4 separate regions of the Homo sapiens genome follow, and regions 1, 3 and 4 are each linked to region 2. Evidence: promoter capture Hi-C in 16 types of primary human blood cells and fetal thymus (Javierre and others, 2016). All regions are on one chromosome and are shown on one strand. Each heading gives the region's core, a stretch centred on a gene start or on the middle of the fragment in contact. The rest is flanking DNA. Distances are from core to core; before and after follow the strand shown. Region 1 holds the start of SMURF2 (SMAD specific E3 ubiquitin protein ligase 2). Region 2 holds the start of POLG2 (DNA polymerase gamma 2, accessory subunit). Region 3 overlaps SMURF2 (SMAD specific E3 ubiquitin protein ligase 2). Region 4 overlaps PECAM1 (platelet and endothelial cell adhesion molecule 1).

Evidence for each region. Contacts are between HindIII fragments. The CHiCAGO score rates a contact against its expected background, and 5 or more counts as called.
Region 1: the fragment with the promoter of SMURF2 here is called in contact with the fragment with the promoter of POLG2 in region 2 in 1 of 17 cell types (megakaryocytes); the score reaches 5.0 in megakaryocytes.
Region 3: a fragment that was not itself captured here is called in contact with the fragment with the promoter of POLG2 in region 2 in 13 of 17 cell types (megakaryocytes, erythroblasts, naive CD4 T cells and 10 more); the score reaches 19.1 in megakaryocytes.
Region 4: a contact is called between a fragment that was not itself captured here and the fragment with the promoter of POLG2 in region 2, in 12 of 17 cell types (neutrophils, M0 macrophages, naive CD4 T cells and 9 more). The highest score is 11.4, in neutrophils.

What each region holds. Positions count from the first base shown.
Region 1 is chr17:64,660,285-64,664,163 of GRCh38, forward strand. It overlaps SMURF2 (SMAD specific E3 ubiquitin protein ligase 2), which reads right to left and starts at 2,023. Exons shown (of 19, transcript NM_022739.4): 1 at 1,545-2,023. The coding sequence starts at 1,596. RefSeq lists silencers at 1,517-1,716, 1,767-2,166 and an enhancer at 2,317-2,875. The HindIII fragment of the contact is 18,568 bases long and covers 1-3,879 here.
Region 2 is chr17:64,495,787-64,499,349 of GRCh38, forward strand. POLG2 (DNA polymerase gamma 2, accessory subunit) reads right to left here and starts at 1,268. Exons shown (of 8, transcript NM_007215.4): 1 at 621-1,268. The coding sequence starts at 1,182. It overlaps DDX5 (DEAD-box helicase 5), which reads right to left. Exons shown (of 13, transcript NM_004396.5): 13 at 2,468-3,563. It also overlaps a transcript of MILR1 not described here. RefSeq lists enhancers at 445-1,304, 956-1,025, 1,406-1,545. The HindIII fragment of the contact is 2,967 bases long and covers 1-1,741 here.
Region 3 is chr17:64,643,973-64,647,999 of GRCh38, forward strand. All of the region lies in intron 1 of SMURF2 (SMAD specific E3 ubiquitin protein ligase 2), which reads right to left. Among named protein-coding and RNA genes, the nearest start is that of SMURF2, 16 kb to the right of the region's middle. The HindIII fragment of the contact is 3,026 bases long and covers 335-3,360 here.
Region 4 is chr17:64,322,553-64,326,429 of GRCh38, forward strand. It overlaps PECAM1 (platelet and endothelial cell adhesion molecule 1), which reads right to left. Exons shown (of 16, transcript NM_000442.5): 16 at 1-1,293. The coding sequence ends at 1,264. Among named protein-coding and RNA genes, the nearest start is that of TEX2, 61 kb to the left of the region's middle. RefSeq lists an enhancer at 3,856-3,877. The HindIII fragment of the contact is 6,637 bases long and covers 1-3,877 here.

The sequences.
Region 1 (3,879 bases), core at 773-3,272, 170 kb after region 2:
CCACGATCACTGACTACAGACAGCAACAGCAACAGATAAACTCTAAAGCAACAAAGATCCCCTATAAAGGTTTCCACTGACTCCTCCCAATGTAAGGACACTGAATGAGGGGGGAGGGGGTGGAATACAAGTATCCTCCAATCCAGGTTTTCCATTAAGAATCACTCAGTTAATGATTCCCTGCAATTTTCCCTAGGGAAAGGAAAACTGCCATGAAAGTAATATATTATTTAAATTGCAGCCAACATACATTCAAGCTAAATTCTCAAATACCAAATTCACTGCAAGTTTTCATCCAGCAAGTTCAGCCAGTGGACTGGGATGTGACACACAGGCATTTAACTACAAAATTAGTCCAAATAAATCTCAAAGTCTAGTGTGGGCAAACATAATTACAGTTTATCCGTACACGTGCACGCACACACAAATCCTCTACGGAAAATTATCTTTCTCACCACTCACCCGAATACAAACGTGGACAATTTATCAGGGGTAAATGGTGAAGGTAGGATAACGCCGTGATTCCAATTCCTTTACAAACCAAATAAAAGTTCTCCTAAAACGGGGGTGGCATGTCCATGTAAGAATACCAAAAATGGCACTGTAAGCAAAACGTACCTGTAATGTTAAAGATTTCATGCACCTGGAATCATAAACACTTTGTAAGTGTAGTCTTCTATCTGGCAACCCCTCCGGACATTCTTTTCCATTTCGAAAAAGGAATGGGGAGGGTGGGGAGAGTAACAGAAAGTTTGCTCGAAAGTTTGTATGAGCACATACTTAGCAATGCACCCCCCCCAAAAAAGTGTGTTTTTAAAGCAGGTCTGGCGTTAGAAGTTAGACACAAGTTCTGCGGCCTAAAAGGAACAACCCCAAACATGCCACCCTACAATCAGACACTTCCAAAACACAGTGTACAATGAGCCCAAGCCGTCGGATCAGACAGGCACACCGGAAAAGTCAACCTGTCTCCTCACCTCAGAGACATGAGTTTAAGGTGTGTGGCCCGGGCAGCGGTGGCCGGCGGCGGGGAGTAAAGGTTTTTCATGCGGGCATAACTGGGTGTGTGCAAGGTAACAACCCGGGAACACACACGCACACCCTCCCGTTAAGCGCTCCATCTTTAAGGAGTGTTTACTGCGCGCAGTCAGCAACCGGATTCAATAATCCTCGCCACGGGAGCTCTTCATCCCCTTCACGATCTCACCTGGGCGGTAGCCCAGGGGCTGTTCCCCGAGCCCCGGGAGGCAGCGTCTGGCTCCTTGACCAAGACTTTCCGACCTGAAATCCGCCTGCGATGCGAACCGGTGTATTCTCCCCTCCACAAAACACCACCCCCCGCCCCGAGTCATCCTCGGCTTTTTAAACAATGTCCAAACCAGAGCAAGTGGTTTTCCAATTACTCTCCCTGAACTAGGCCTTCCCATTCCTCCGACCCCCAACTCATCATTGATCGCGACCCTGGCCCTTCCCAAGGCCACAGGCACCCCCCGCCAGCTCGCCCACCCCGCGGCTGCCCAGCCCGGCCCGCCGCCCCCCCTCACCTGTCAGGCGCAGCTTGACGGGCCCGTTCCTCCGGCCTCCGGGGTTAGACATGTCCCCGGCGGCGGGGGCGGCGGGGGCGGCGGGCGGCACGGGGGCGACGGCGAGGCGCGGCGGAGTCACCACAGCGGCCGGGGCTGGGGCCCGAGCAGCCGGCGCCTCGGCCGCCACGGCCGGAGGGTCCCGGATGTGCCGAGAGTCGTCGCCATGAGCCGCGGAGGGAGCGGGACGCCGAGCTCCCCCCTCCTCCCACTTCTCCTTCCTCGGCCCGGGCCGCACAACAAAGCGGCAGCCGCGGCCGCCCGCGCCGCCTCCGCCCGCGCCCCCGCCGCCTCCTCGCGGCCGCCGAGGCCTTTCCCTCCTCTCGTCTCGGCGAGGCCCAGTAGCCGACGGGGCTGGTCGGCTGAAGCGGGCGGTGCTCGGGGGCGCCGGAGCAGAACTCTGGGCTCGGCCGCTTCCTCCTCCACCCGCCCTCTTGTCTGAGGGACCCGGGACCTGGGGCCGCCGCCGCCACTCGTCGGCTCCGGGGGGCGGGGAGGAGACGGGAGGCGGGGCCGGCGGGGCGGGGCGGGGCCGGGGCGGGGCCGGCGGGCGCGCGCAGGGTGCCCTGGCGGGCACCGGCAGTCAGGGAGGGTGTGAGCTGCCGCCGAGGGTCCCACGCGGAACGCTGGGAGGGAGCAGGCAGGGAGCAAAGCGGCGGCGGGCGCGGCAGCTCTGTGGCACCTGGAGGGGTTTACTGTCCGGGCCACTTAAGGGAGAACTTTTGTCCAAGCAGGGCCAACTGCATTTTATTAGACGCCCACTGCGTGCAGGGCGCTCCGAGAGGCTGGGGCGAGGAAGGTTAGAACCGAGTCCGCTGCCTGCCGGGAACTTGGCGTCTTTCGGGCGAGGGAAGAGAAAGCATTCCCACGCCGATGGTTCCAGCAAAACCCCAGGAATGCTCTGCTCCTGGTCTTGTAGTTGACACCTCCATCCGGGACTCACCTGGTGGAGGAGATCAGGTTACCTGCCGACTCCCGCTCTTTTCAGGTGCAGCCAAGGATGGGGAGATGATACGTCTTAAAGGATTAACAAGATAAACCTTGGAGAGTAATGTATGAAGAGTTGTTCATACGCTACTGTATTTCGTTATCTCAGGAGGAGAAAGAGAAAAGTTTTTAAAAAATGTGTACCTTATCCTTTGACATTGTAACTGTACTGCTAGAAATTTATTTTTTATTTTTTTGTTTTTAGACAGGGTCTCCCTCTGTCGCCCAGGCTGGAGTGCAGTGGTGCGAACACGGCTCACTGCAGTCTCAACTTCCGGGGCTCAGGTGATCCTCCCACCTGAGCCTCTGGAGTAGCTGAGACCACAGTGTGCACCACTACGCCCCACTAATTTTTGTATTTTTAGTAGAGACATGTTTAGTAGAGACGTTTAGGTTTTCCCATGTTGCCCAGGCTGGTCACGAACTCCTGACCTCAAGCGATCAGCCCGCCTCGGCCTCCCAAAGTGCTGGGATTACAGACCTGAGCCACCGCACCGGCCCTATTCTTGACAAATAATCGTACAGAAGATGTTCTTTGCTATATTCCATTAATAACAAAAGGGGAATGAGGGAATAGCATAATAGTCCAGGAACCGCATGGTTTTTTATGCAGCCATGTAACTATTTTTATGAAGATCATATAATATGGAAGAATGTATATGTAATGCAAAGTTTAAAAACAGAATAGAAGTTGTATGCATATACATGCGAAAGTATCTAGCACAATGTAAACTACTAAGGACAATAGCGTGGGGGATTTTTTATGTGATTCGTTAGTTTTGCTTTAGGCTATTATAACATTAATGCAATTTTAAATGTTTTGGATTAATATATTTTAATCCTTATTCCATGCCAGTCATTTCTTTTAATACATCAGTGAACTCACTTCTCCAGATAGTTACCTGCGAGAACATTTCATCAGTTTGGATACAGCCCTACAATTAAAAGTAATCCAAAAAAGTATATGAAGTTCTAGACATCACACTAAAAATACCACAGATAGGCCGGGCACAGTGGCTCACGCCTGTAATTCCAACACTTTGGGAGGCCGAGGTGGGCGGATCATTTGAGGTCAGGAGTTTGAGACCAGCCTGGCCAACATGGTGAAACCCCGTCTGTACTAAAAAAAAATACAAAAAAATTAGCCGGGCCTGGTGGCGCATGCCTGTGGTCCCAGCAATTAGGGAGGCTGAGGCAAGAGAATCGCTTGAACACGGGAGGTTGCAGTGAGCCGAGATCACGCCACTGCACTTCAGCCTGGGTGACAGAGCGAGACTCCATATCAAAAATAAATACATAAATAAATAAA
Region 2 (3,563 bases), core at 18-2,517:
CAACCTCTGCCTCCTGGGTTCAAGCGATTCTCCTGCCTCAGCCTCCCAAGTAGCTGGGATTACAGGCGCTCGCCGTCACGGCCGGCTAATTTTTGTCTTTTTAGTAGAGACGGGGTTTCACCATGTTGGCCAGGCTAGTCTCGAACTCCTGACCTCAGGTGATCCACCCGCCTCTGCCTTGCAAAATGCTGGGATTACAGGCGTGAGCCACTGCGCCTGGCCTTGATTTATCCTATGATATACATGAAATAGTTTCAGAATTATAATTTCAACATTTTTACTTAGAATAAATCTAAGAAAAGTTCAAAATGTCTGTGTAGTTCCTTATGCACTTAGACTACATTGCACTAAATGACAGCACTGTGTTCAGAAGTTGCCCCGTGAAATTGAGAGCGTTCCCAGGTCCTTCGGACAGATTGTTTAAGGAACAGCAATGATTCCATGGACCAGTTTTCTCCAGGGTAGAGCACTGTTAATATATCCGACTACTTCAAAAAGATGAGAACTAACTAACTTCCTTGCATGGGAATACAGGGCCAGTTGCAATCCCCAAGATCCAGCAAGACTGCCTCGCCTTTCCACCCGACACCTGTTTTGAAGCATGAAATCGTGAAGCATACCGTGAAGAAGGTTCTCCCGTAGTTTCCCAGAAGTTTTTAATACGTTCTCAAGAAATGCTACTAGCTGTTCCTTACTCAGCTCTTTGTCTTGCAAGATTTCGCGTAGAGTTTCTGCAGAAACTAACCTGAAGGCACTGTCCCCGGGTAGCAAAGGGCCTGGTTTGTGGTGGAGGGCGTCCACCGGGAATACCTGCTCCCTGAACACCACCACCGAGGTCCACCATTCTGCGGCCAGGTTCTTCCGCAACTCTACGCCCAAGGGTCCGAAGCCGGGGTGGCACCCACTCAGAAGAGAATCCCGGCTAAGCTGCTGCTTGCTTCCACTTAGGAAATGCCTTCTCTGACAGATCTCTAACAGCGCCTCGCTTCCCTCTCCAGACCCGGGGGCTTCTGGGTGCTCGCCGTTCCCCTCGAGCTCCGCGTGCGACTTCACATGCCCTCCTTTGGGGCTACTCCTTTCCGTCAACAGCTCCGGCTGCCCCGCATCTACTCGACCCCCAAACCCAGACAACAGGCACCTGCAGACCTTATGGCAGGCCCTGACGGCTACACGAGAGCGCATCTCTCTCCGAAGTTAAAGAGCACACTCTCCCATCACTCAACGGATCCCAACAAGCCACCACTACCGTTAACAGAATCCGGAGAGGCCACGGCGCAGGCGCAACGGAGGTGAGCGTGCTTGCGGGCGGCAGGCCCCACCCCGGAAGCGCATGTCTGCGTTCCGGCCGCAGCCGTCCCCCGCCCACCATGGCGGACGCCGGCTCGGATGGTTCTCTGCTAGCTTGCCGTTCGCGTCGCGCCCCTCCCTTCAGATTGACTTTTTTCTTTCCTCGTAAGCACCAGTAAAGGTTATTCCCACCTATTTATAACCGTGGTGTAGCCACTTGAGTCACTTCCTTCTGCCACTGTTTTGCAGTCCAGAAAATTAAAATACTTCAGTATTATCCAAATCACCTTCTATATACACCTCAATCAAGCACTTGGACTAAATTTGGCATTTGGTTTCCCTTTAAACAGTTTTAGTCCTTTACGGTGATTTGTAAGCCCAGGCCTTCTTAACTAGGCAAATGCTGCCGCCAGGTGGCCTAGGCCTAACCCCAGAGCCGTTGTCTTGACGCTTAAGCTTCCGGGGAGGGGGGCGATAGGCTTCGTGACTAGGGTAGTGGTATGGTCACTTTAAATATTGCAGTGGCTTCCAAAGGGCAGTCCCCAGCCAGCAGCATCTGCCTCACCTGGGAATGCACTAGAAATAAACCAAGGGGCCCTGACATGTCTTAAACCCTCCTGGTGTCAGAGAAAACCACGTACGTGCAATTTCTTCCAGGGGCCCCTTCTATGGGTTCATCAAAACAATGAGACTTGTGACTGTTATTATTAAGAGACTCATGATTAAATTGCAGGTTTCTGATTTTGCAGTTTCTATTTAAATAGGTCGAGACCTTAAGACCTACCCAGAAAGTGGAAAAGTGGTATACCCAGACTGAGGAAGTTTGATTCCAAAGTCCATGATTTCTTATACCAGCCTCAGTTACGAAAACCTTTAAAGAGGTTCAGGGAAAAAGGAACAATCTACATTTCACTGTGAGACTACCAAACTACTACCTGATTAAGAGGGGTAACAGCTTAGCAATTGAGTTAATGTAATTCAGGAGTAAAGTTTTATCATTAGTAAAGTGCTGTACCAGGTTCAGGAAATAGTTCTTCTTTACAAGTGTATACAAGGGTTTAAAAAAAGGCCAGCTAGATAGTAATTAACTGCAAAGCTGGGTACTACTGCCAGGTGTTTTCCACATTCAGGAACTCACACCAGGTAAAAGGCCTATACGCAAATAAATAAAAAGAGAGAATGGGGAGAAAAATCACATTTATTAGTTAAGACGACCACAGGCTGGACACAACACACATGCTAAAAAGTGGACTGTCTTTTAAAACTTCCAAGGTAAATAGGTAAATGTTTTCCACAGCCCAACAATCATTTCAGTGTTTACAAATTAAAAGGCCCACGGTTAAGACATTAAACAGTAAAATATGTAATAAATGCTCCAACCTACCCTCTCCCCCGAAAGCTGCTTCTAAGTTTAAAACCATGAATTTGACTAACCATGCCATTGAAAACCATCCAGGTTACTACAGGCTGAATTAGTTTTCAATGTCTAAGTCCTAGAAATATCACTCCCTATCCCAGCCCTAGCAAATTCTAACTTTACATTTGACATAAGGCATTAACATCAATTAAAGCCTCAGTTTAATAATCAGAATTTAAATGAAGTCTCCTGAAGACCTCTCTTCTGGCAAAAAAAAACACGTATCAGACTCTGGGAAAACATTCAGACCCACTTCTAGCTATTACTGAAATAAATGATTAGAAAGTTACGTTGGTGAGCCGAAGTTAAACCTAAAGCTATCCCCTGGATCTTTCTAGCAATAAACCCATGTTGAACCTACCATGAAAACTTTCATTCACTGTGCTTTTGGTTACGTTGCCTCCTGATTAGTCATTAATTTTAATGAGGTTTTTTCCTTGTGTTGAGTATGAATAGACCTTACAGTTTGAGGATCTCTAGAATTCCCTGAATTATTGGAAAGACATTCATGACTCCCAGTGTGACTAGTTAAGAGCCCCAGGGAGCCTGTGAAGACTAGAATCTACAAGTAACCTGCACTAAGAACGAAATTCAGTAAAGGAGACTCAAGCTTAGCTCCTGGCCATCTTAAAGGGCTAATGTATGTCTTTCACAGGTTTGTTCAACATTTCAGTAATTCACAGTATAGCCAAGAGCATGAGTATAAGTCTCTTGAAAAAGCCAGTTATTTGGAGCTTTTTAAATTATAAACTTTGAAAAAGTCACCCACGTTCTCACACTATATAGATGACTTTGTATCTATTTTACTATTTTCTCATTTAACCATACTAGCAAATAAGGAAAAAGGCTATTAAATGAC
Region 3 (4,027 bases), core at 598-3,097, 150 kb after region 2:
GCGCCACCAAGCCTGGCTAATTTTTATATTTTTAGTGGAGATGGGGTTTCACCATATCGCCCAGGCTGGTCTCAAACTCCTGGAGTGCAGTGGCACAATCTTGGCTCACTGCAACCTCTGCCTGCTGGGCTCAAACCATCCTCCCACCTCAGCCTCCCAAGTAGTTGGGACTACAGGTACGCACCACACACCAGGCTAATTTTTGCAGTTTTTGTAGAGACGGAGTTTCACCATGTTGCTCAGGCAATCCACCTGCCTCAGCCTTCAAAGCGCTGGGATTTCAGGCATAAGCCACCGCGCCCAGCCTCAGCTATGTCTTAAAACTGGAGCACCAAGCTTGGTGGCTCATGCCTGTACTCCCAACAATTTAGGAGGTTAAGGCAGGAAGATCTAATTGAGCTCAGGAGTTTGAGACCAGCCTTGGCAACACATCAGAACCTCATCTCTACTAAAAATAGAAAAAAAAAAAAAAAATTAGCCAAGTATGGTGGCACATACCTATAGTCCCAACTACTCAGGAGGCTGAGGCAGGAGGAATGCTTGAGCCTGGGTGGTCCAGGCTGCAGTAAGCCATGATCAAACCACTGCACTCCAGCCTAGGTGACAAGAGCAAGACTCTGTCTCAAAAAAAAAAAGAAAAAAAAAAAAATGCTGAGTAGCCAGGCATGGTGGCTCACGCCTGTAATCACAGCACTTTGGGAGGCTGAGACGGGCGGATCACCTAAGATCAGGAGTTTGAGACCAGCCTGGCCAACATGGCGAAACTCCAACTCTACCAAAAAGACAAAAATTAGCTGGGCATGGTGGCGTGCCTGTGATCCCAGCTACTTGGGAAGCTGTCTCATGGTGAAACCCTGTCTCTACTAAAAATATACATATACACAAAAATTAGCCAGGCATGGTGGCAGGCGCCTGTAATTCCAGCTACTCAAGAGGCTGAGGCAGGAGCCGCTTCAACCCAGAAGGCAGAGGTTGCAGTGAGCCGAGATCACACCACTGCACTTCAGCCTGGATAACAAGAGCAAGACTGTCTCAAAAAAAAAAAACAAAACAAAGTGCTGAGTAGATTCGACAGGAAGACTAGGTGGGGAAGGAGGAAGATGGGTAACAGCATCATCTAAGGCAACAGCACTGTCAAAAACTTGGAGATACAAGAGATTATGAAATTTAAGAAAAGACAAGGAGTTCAGAGTGGTAGAACACAGTGGTATGATGGGAAGGCTAGGGCCAAATGATAAAGAGTTTTGAGATGCTGATATATTTAATAAATCTGTTTTCTATAATAAATAAATTTGAAGAAAAAGAAAATTCAGAGGAAGAAAAGAGAAAGCTATAGTTTAAACGATAATTAAGAGACATACCAACCCAATACAATGTGTAGACCTCTTCCGGATTCTGATTAAACAAACCACTTACTCAAAAAGGGAGAGGGGTATCAGGTACAGTGGTGTACAGCTGTAGTCCCAGCTTCTCTGGAGGTTGAGGCAGGAGGATAGGTTGAGCCCATGAGTTTAAGGCTGCAGTGTGTTATGTTCACACCTGTGAACACTAGTACACATCAGCCTGGGCAACACAGTGAGAACTTGTCCCTAAAAAAATAATTAAGAAAAATAGAAAAGTGGGGAGGAAGACAAGGAAGAGAATAATTGGACATGCATGTCTCCTTTTTGTTTGTTTTTAAATTCAAGACAGGGTATCGCTATGTTGCCAGGCTGGTCTCAAACGCCTAGGCTTAACAACCCTCCTGCCTCAGCCTTATGAGTAGCTGGGATTACAGACATATGCCACCACACCCAGGTGGACATGCATCTCTTAATGAGATGGATGGGGTTTTCTTACTTTCAATTACTTCATGTGTCTATTAATGACTATTACTTATTGCTGGAATGAGGGTACAACATAAATTCTAATCCCATTTTTCATTTTATACATATAAATGCTAAGAAAACCTATTCACATAAATAAGTAGGTAATGAAAGAAGTTTTGTTACAGCAATGCCATTAAATTCTTTGAGTTAGATGCCAAAAAAAATTACCAAGATCTATAATTTTAAAAAACTTTCTGGGAAATGGCATTTGACTTCACTATTTCTTATAATTTTTTTTTTTTTTGAGATGGAGTCCCGCTCTGTTGCCTAGGCTGGAGTGCAGTGGTGCCATCTCAGCTCACTGCAACCTCCATCTCCAGGTTCAAGCAATTCTCATGTCTCAGCCTCCCGAGTAGCTGGGATTATAGGCGCACACCACCATGCCCAACTAATTTTTGTATTTTTGGTAGAGACAGAGTTTCACCACATTGGCCAGGCTGGTATTGAACTCCTGACCTCAAGTGATCTGCCCGCCTCAGCCTCCCAAAGTGCTGGGATTATAGGCATGAGCCACTGGAATTTTTCTTTTTTTTTTTCTTTCTTTTTTTTTTTTTTTAAATTGAGACAAGGTCTGGCTCTATCGCCCAGGCTGGAGTGCAGTGGCACCATCTCGGCTCACTGCAACCTCTGCCTGCTGGGCTCGAGCCATCCTCCCACCTCAGCCTCCCAAGTAGTTGGGACTAGAGGTATGCACCACACACCAGGCTAATTTTTGTAGTTTTTGTAGAGATGGAGTTTCACCATGTTGCCCAGGCTGGTCTCGAATTCATGAGCTCAAGCGATCCATCCCTTCAGCCTCCCAAAGTGCTGGGATTACAGGCATGAGCCACCACTCCTGGCCCTATAAAAATTATTTTTAATGACCAGCTAAAACTTGATCAAGTCCTTCAATTTTGTTGAAAACTACAGAGAGAAATATGCCTGACTTATGAAAAGATGCTACCCAGTCATTGATATCACTGCCTTCTCACCAACATTCTGATTTGTCTCTCTGGTGGTGTGGAAGGCCTCTCACCACAATGTACTATTTGGGATGTCTGGCTAATGTGCCTTTCTTTGTAAAGTGGAAGGTAGAAAATATGAAAGATCAATCGTAGAATCTAGAAAGCCCCCTTAGAAATACCTATGGGCTTTCATTATTTTATTTCACCCTTACTGCATACACCATTAACTCTAGCACTGACTGTGGTTATTTCATCCATCAAGTCTTATCTGTTTGGTTACCTGCAAGTTCCCTGAAAGCAAGATAAAGGTCTTAACCTCTTCTTAAAATCCTAGAGCCTACATCTCAGTGTTAGGTGCATGTAAGACTCCCAGCAAATGTTTACTGAATGAATATGTAAATATGAGCATATTTCATCATTATTCTTAGTCTTCTTCCTTGCTAGAAAAAATACAATTAGGGGTTAACTAAGCTGGAAATCAGAAGAAACTGAAAAAAAAAGAAAAAAAAATCAGAAGAAACTGGGAAAGAGAAAACTAAAATATATGAAGCTTCAAATTTTATCACAATGAACTTTTGGTACATCTATCCTCATTTCTAAAGAACTGGAATAGAGGCCGGGTACGGTGGTTCACACCCGTAATCCCAGCACTCTGGGAGGCTGAAGCGGGCGGACCTGAGGTCAGGAGCTTGAGACCAGCCTGGCCAACATGGTGAAACCCTGTCTCTACTAAAAATACAACAATTAGCCAAGCATGGTGGTGGCAGGCACCTGTAATCCCAGTTACTCCGGAGGCTGATGAAGGCAAATCGCTTGAACCCAGGAGGGGGAGGTTGCGGTGAGCCGAGATCATGCCATTGCACTTCAGCCCGGGTGACAGAGTAAGACTCTGTCTAAAAAAAAAAAAAAAAAGATTTAGGGAACAAATTTCGTCAGATAAAAGGTGCTCATTTCACTTTCACTGGTTCAGATTACCTACAAAGACACCTTGGTAGACACAGTGGCTCATGTCTGTAATTCCAGCTACCAGGGAGGCTGAGGTGAGAGGACTGCTTGAAACCCAGAGTTCAAGACCATCCTGGGCAACAGTGAGACCCAGTCCTTAAAAACTTTTTTTCTTAATTAGCCAGGCACAGTGGTGAGCAACTATTGTCCTAGCTACTCAGGAGGCTGAAGCAGGAAGACTGCTTGAGCCTAGGAGTTCCAGGCTGTAAG
Region 4 (3,877 bases), core at 278-2,777, 170 kb before region 2:
TGCAGCTGTGTCACTGAGGCAAACAGGAAAAGTGATTTTGGCTAGGCGTGGTTCTCATCTGTGAAATTCCACAGCGCAATGACAGCAGCCTCTCTCCCACCCACTCAAGACACTGTCAGGAATGTCTTAAGACCTCAGGAGACCACTTCTTTAGCAAGCAATTTTGTTTTTTGTTTTTTTTGAGATGGATTCTCACTCTGTCACTCAGGCTGGAGTGCAGTGGCGCGATCTCCGCTCACTACAACCTCCGTTTCCTGGGTTCAAGCGATAATCTCACCTCAGCCTCTTGAGTAGCTGATACTACAGGCATGCGCCACCACGCCCGGCTAATTCTTGTATTTTTAGTAGAGACAGGGTTTCATCAGGCTGGTCTCAAACTCCTGACCTCAGGTGATCCGCCCACCTCAGCCTCCTGAAGTGCTGGGATTACAGGCGTGAGCCACCTTGCCTGCCCTGGCAAGGAATACATTTTTAAAAATTAGTAAGAAACATACACATTTCAAGTTTTCAATTAAGAATAATATTTGCTGATGGCACCATCTTCCTGTCTTTCAGCCTTCAGCATGGTAGAGGAAAAGAGAAAGAGTGTAGACAAAAACAGTTGAAGAACATCTGTGCTTGTTCCACCTTCATTTTCTGTTTTGTGCGTTGCCTGAATGAACGGTGTCTTCAGGTTGGTATTTCACAGGCGGTGCTCCCAAGTAGTCTGGTTTTCCCATTTGTGGAGGGCGAGGTCATAGAGGGGACAGGGGGAGGCTGTCTGGTCAGCACTGTGTATTTCCAAAGAACAAGGACTAGCCAAAACTACAAGCCTTTGAAGGACCAAAGGAAAAGAGAAAAAACCAGCCTCTAACCAGGCCATGCGCTAGAAATGATTGAGTATAAAAAAGAAAATTGGTTTCTGTGTATGAGGGTGCATGGAAAAGGTCTTTATCTCTGCACAAAACAAAATATTCAAGTTTCAGAATATCCCAATGGCCTTGCCCTGGATCTCCTCTTGTGCTCTTCCAATTTCCAAGGATGTTCCAACTTGGTGGAAGGAGGGTATGTGGGAAATTCAACAGCCCCTCTGTATCTCTTTCTACCCAACATTAACTTAGCAGGATGGATTTAAGAACCGGCAGCTTAGCCTGAGGAATTGCTGTGTTCTGTGGGAGCAGGGCAGGTTCATAAATAAGTGCACAGAGGTCTTGAAATACAGGGATTATCTGTTCTTCTCGGAACATGGATGTCCTTCCAGGGATGTGCATCTGGCCTTGCTGTCTAAGTTCCATCAAGGGAGCCTTCCGTTCTCTGTAGCGACAAGAAACAAGGCAAGTTATGATCACACCTCTCAAGATTGAAGATTGCCCTGGTGGAGAGAAATGCAAAATGACAGCACTTCTCAAAGAAAATGCAAAGCAGGGCTGTCACACACTGGTCCCCCACCCTGCAGGGTTCTCTCTGTGACTTCAGAGGCCCAAGGAGTCCTCAGCACTACAGATACACGTGGCCCCTCAGAAGACAACATTTCACAGATCTGCAAAGAATAAAGGTCAAATTTACTTAATACAACACCCACCAGGGTTCCTGCAGCTGTGTCACTGAGGCAAACAGGGAAAGTAATTTTGGTTAGGTGTGGTTCTCACCTCTGAAATTCCACAGCACAATGACTGCAGCCTCTCTCCCACCCACTCAAGACATTGTCAGGAACGTCTTAAGACCTCAGGAGACCACTTCTTTAGCAAGCAATTTTTTTTAGATGGATTCTCACTCTGTCACTCAGGCTGGAGTGCAGTGGCGCGGTCTCTGCTCACTACACCCTCCCTCTCCTGGCTCCTGCCCGTATGTATTTCTCCTTCTCTCCATGCCTGCTCTGTAGGGACCATAGCCTCTGTCCCTGCATACATGTTGGACATCAATCACATCAGTCCACCAAGTAACTTCATCAAGCACCCATGTACGCCCAGCACAGCGTCCCAAGGGTGCCCCACTTACCCACAGAAGAAGAAAGGCAACTTTGTAAGAGATCTGACTTCTAGCTCCAGTTCTGTCTCTAGCTAACGTGAGATGTACCCGTTTGAGGCCTGTTTTTTAATTTTGAAAATGAAGGACTGAACTTAGATGGTCCAACTGAAATGTTTTAAAATGATATGATTCTACCTTAAAAAGAGAATGAAATTCTGATATATTTTCAACACAGGAAAACCTTGAAAACGTTATGCTAAATGAAATAAGGCAGACATGAAAGGACAAATATATGATTCCACTTATGTGATGTACCTCAAATAGTCAAATTCATAGAGACAGAAAGTAGACAGTGGTTGCTAGGGGTTGCTGGAGGGGCAATGGGGAGTTAGTGTTTAATGGGTACAGTGTTTCAGTGGCTGCTCTGCCTATGGAGTAGCCATTCTTTTGTTTCTTTACTTCTCTAATAAACTTGCTTTCACTTAAAAAGAAAAAGCTCTGGAGATGGATAGTGGTGGTGGTTGCACAGCAATGTGAACGGACCTAATGCAACTGAATTATACACTTTAAAATGGTTAAGTATACACTGGAAAATGGTGAATTTGCCGGGCGGGCGCAGTGGCTCACGCCTGTAATCCCAACACTTTGGGAGGCCGAGGCGGGTGGATCATGAGGTCAGGAGTTCAAGACCAGCCTGGCCAACATAGTGAAACCTTGTCTCTACTGAAAAATACAAAAATTAGCCGGGCGTGGTGGCGTGTGCCTGTAGTCCCAGCCACTCGGGAGGCTGAGGCAGGAGAATGGCGTGAACCCGGGAGGCGGAGCTTGCAGTGAGCCAAGATTGCGCCACTGCACTCCAACCTGGGCGACAGAGCAAGACTCCGTCTCAAAAAAAAAGAAAATGGTAAATTTAATATTATGTATATTTTATGACAATTAAAAAAAAGGATTCCTGGCTGGGCATGGTAGCTCATCCCTGTAATCCCAGCACTTTGGGAGGCCAAGGTGGGTGGATCCCCTGAGTTTAGGAGTTCCAGAACAGCCTGGGCAACATGGCGAAGCCCCATCTCTATCAAAAATGCAAAGAATTAGGCATACATGGTGGTGTGCACCTGTAGTCCCAGCTACTCAGGAGGCTGAGGTGGGAGGATCACTTGAGTCTGGGAGATGGAGGTTGCAGTGAGCTGAAATAGCACCCCTGCACTCCAGCCTGGGTGATAGAGTGAGACTTCATCTCAAAAAACACACAAACAAACAAAAAAAGCAAAAAAACACCCACAAAAGGATTCCTGGATTCCTTCTGCCATCCTGTAGTGCTCTTTAACAGCTTCAAATGGTATTTGTGTCACCTATCCACCTATCAGTGCCTGGACCCTTATCTGACCCACACTGTTCTCTATGCTGGGGATGCAAGAAGCTGTCCCCAAGAATTTTATATTGTATCAATTATTGATAAACAACACCACTATGAAGTAGAAGGTATAAGAGGTCTCAACAAACTGCAGAAGGGGTTCAGAGGCACTGAGAGGGCTCTGGGCTGGGCAGTGGGGGATTCACAGAAGCAACTCTGGAGTCAGCCTAAAGATTGGATTTTGACAAATGGAAGGAGCCCTTGGAGGGAAAAAGAGCAGGGCCTGCTGGGAGATACCAGAGTAGAGGGGGGCCCTGGGCAACAGTGGGCCCTGAAGAGCAGGCAGCACCTAAGTCCACTATTCTGGACCCTCCATGTGCACAGGACACTCTGCTGCAGGTGGAACTCAGCAAGGCAGAAGCTGGAGATGGAGGATGACCCAGGGTCTTGGGACCTCCACAGCCAGCCTGGCTGGCTTCCTGAGGGTGAGCTGGGATAGTGTCTCCATTTTGTTTCAGCCCTGCTGGGTCCAAGGACCCTTGGGGAACAGGATGCAGGGCCGAGGTGCCCCAACTAGAA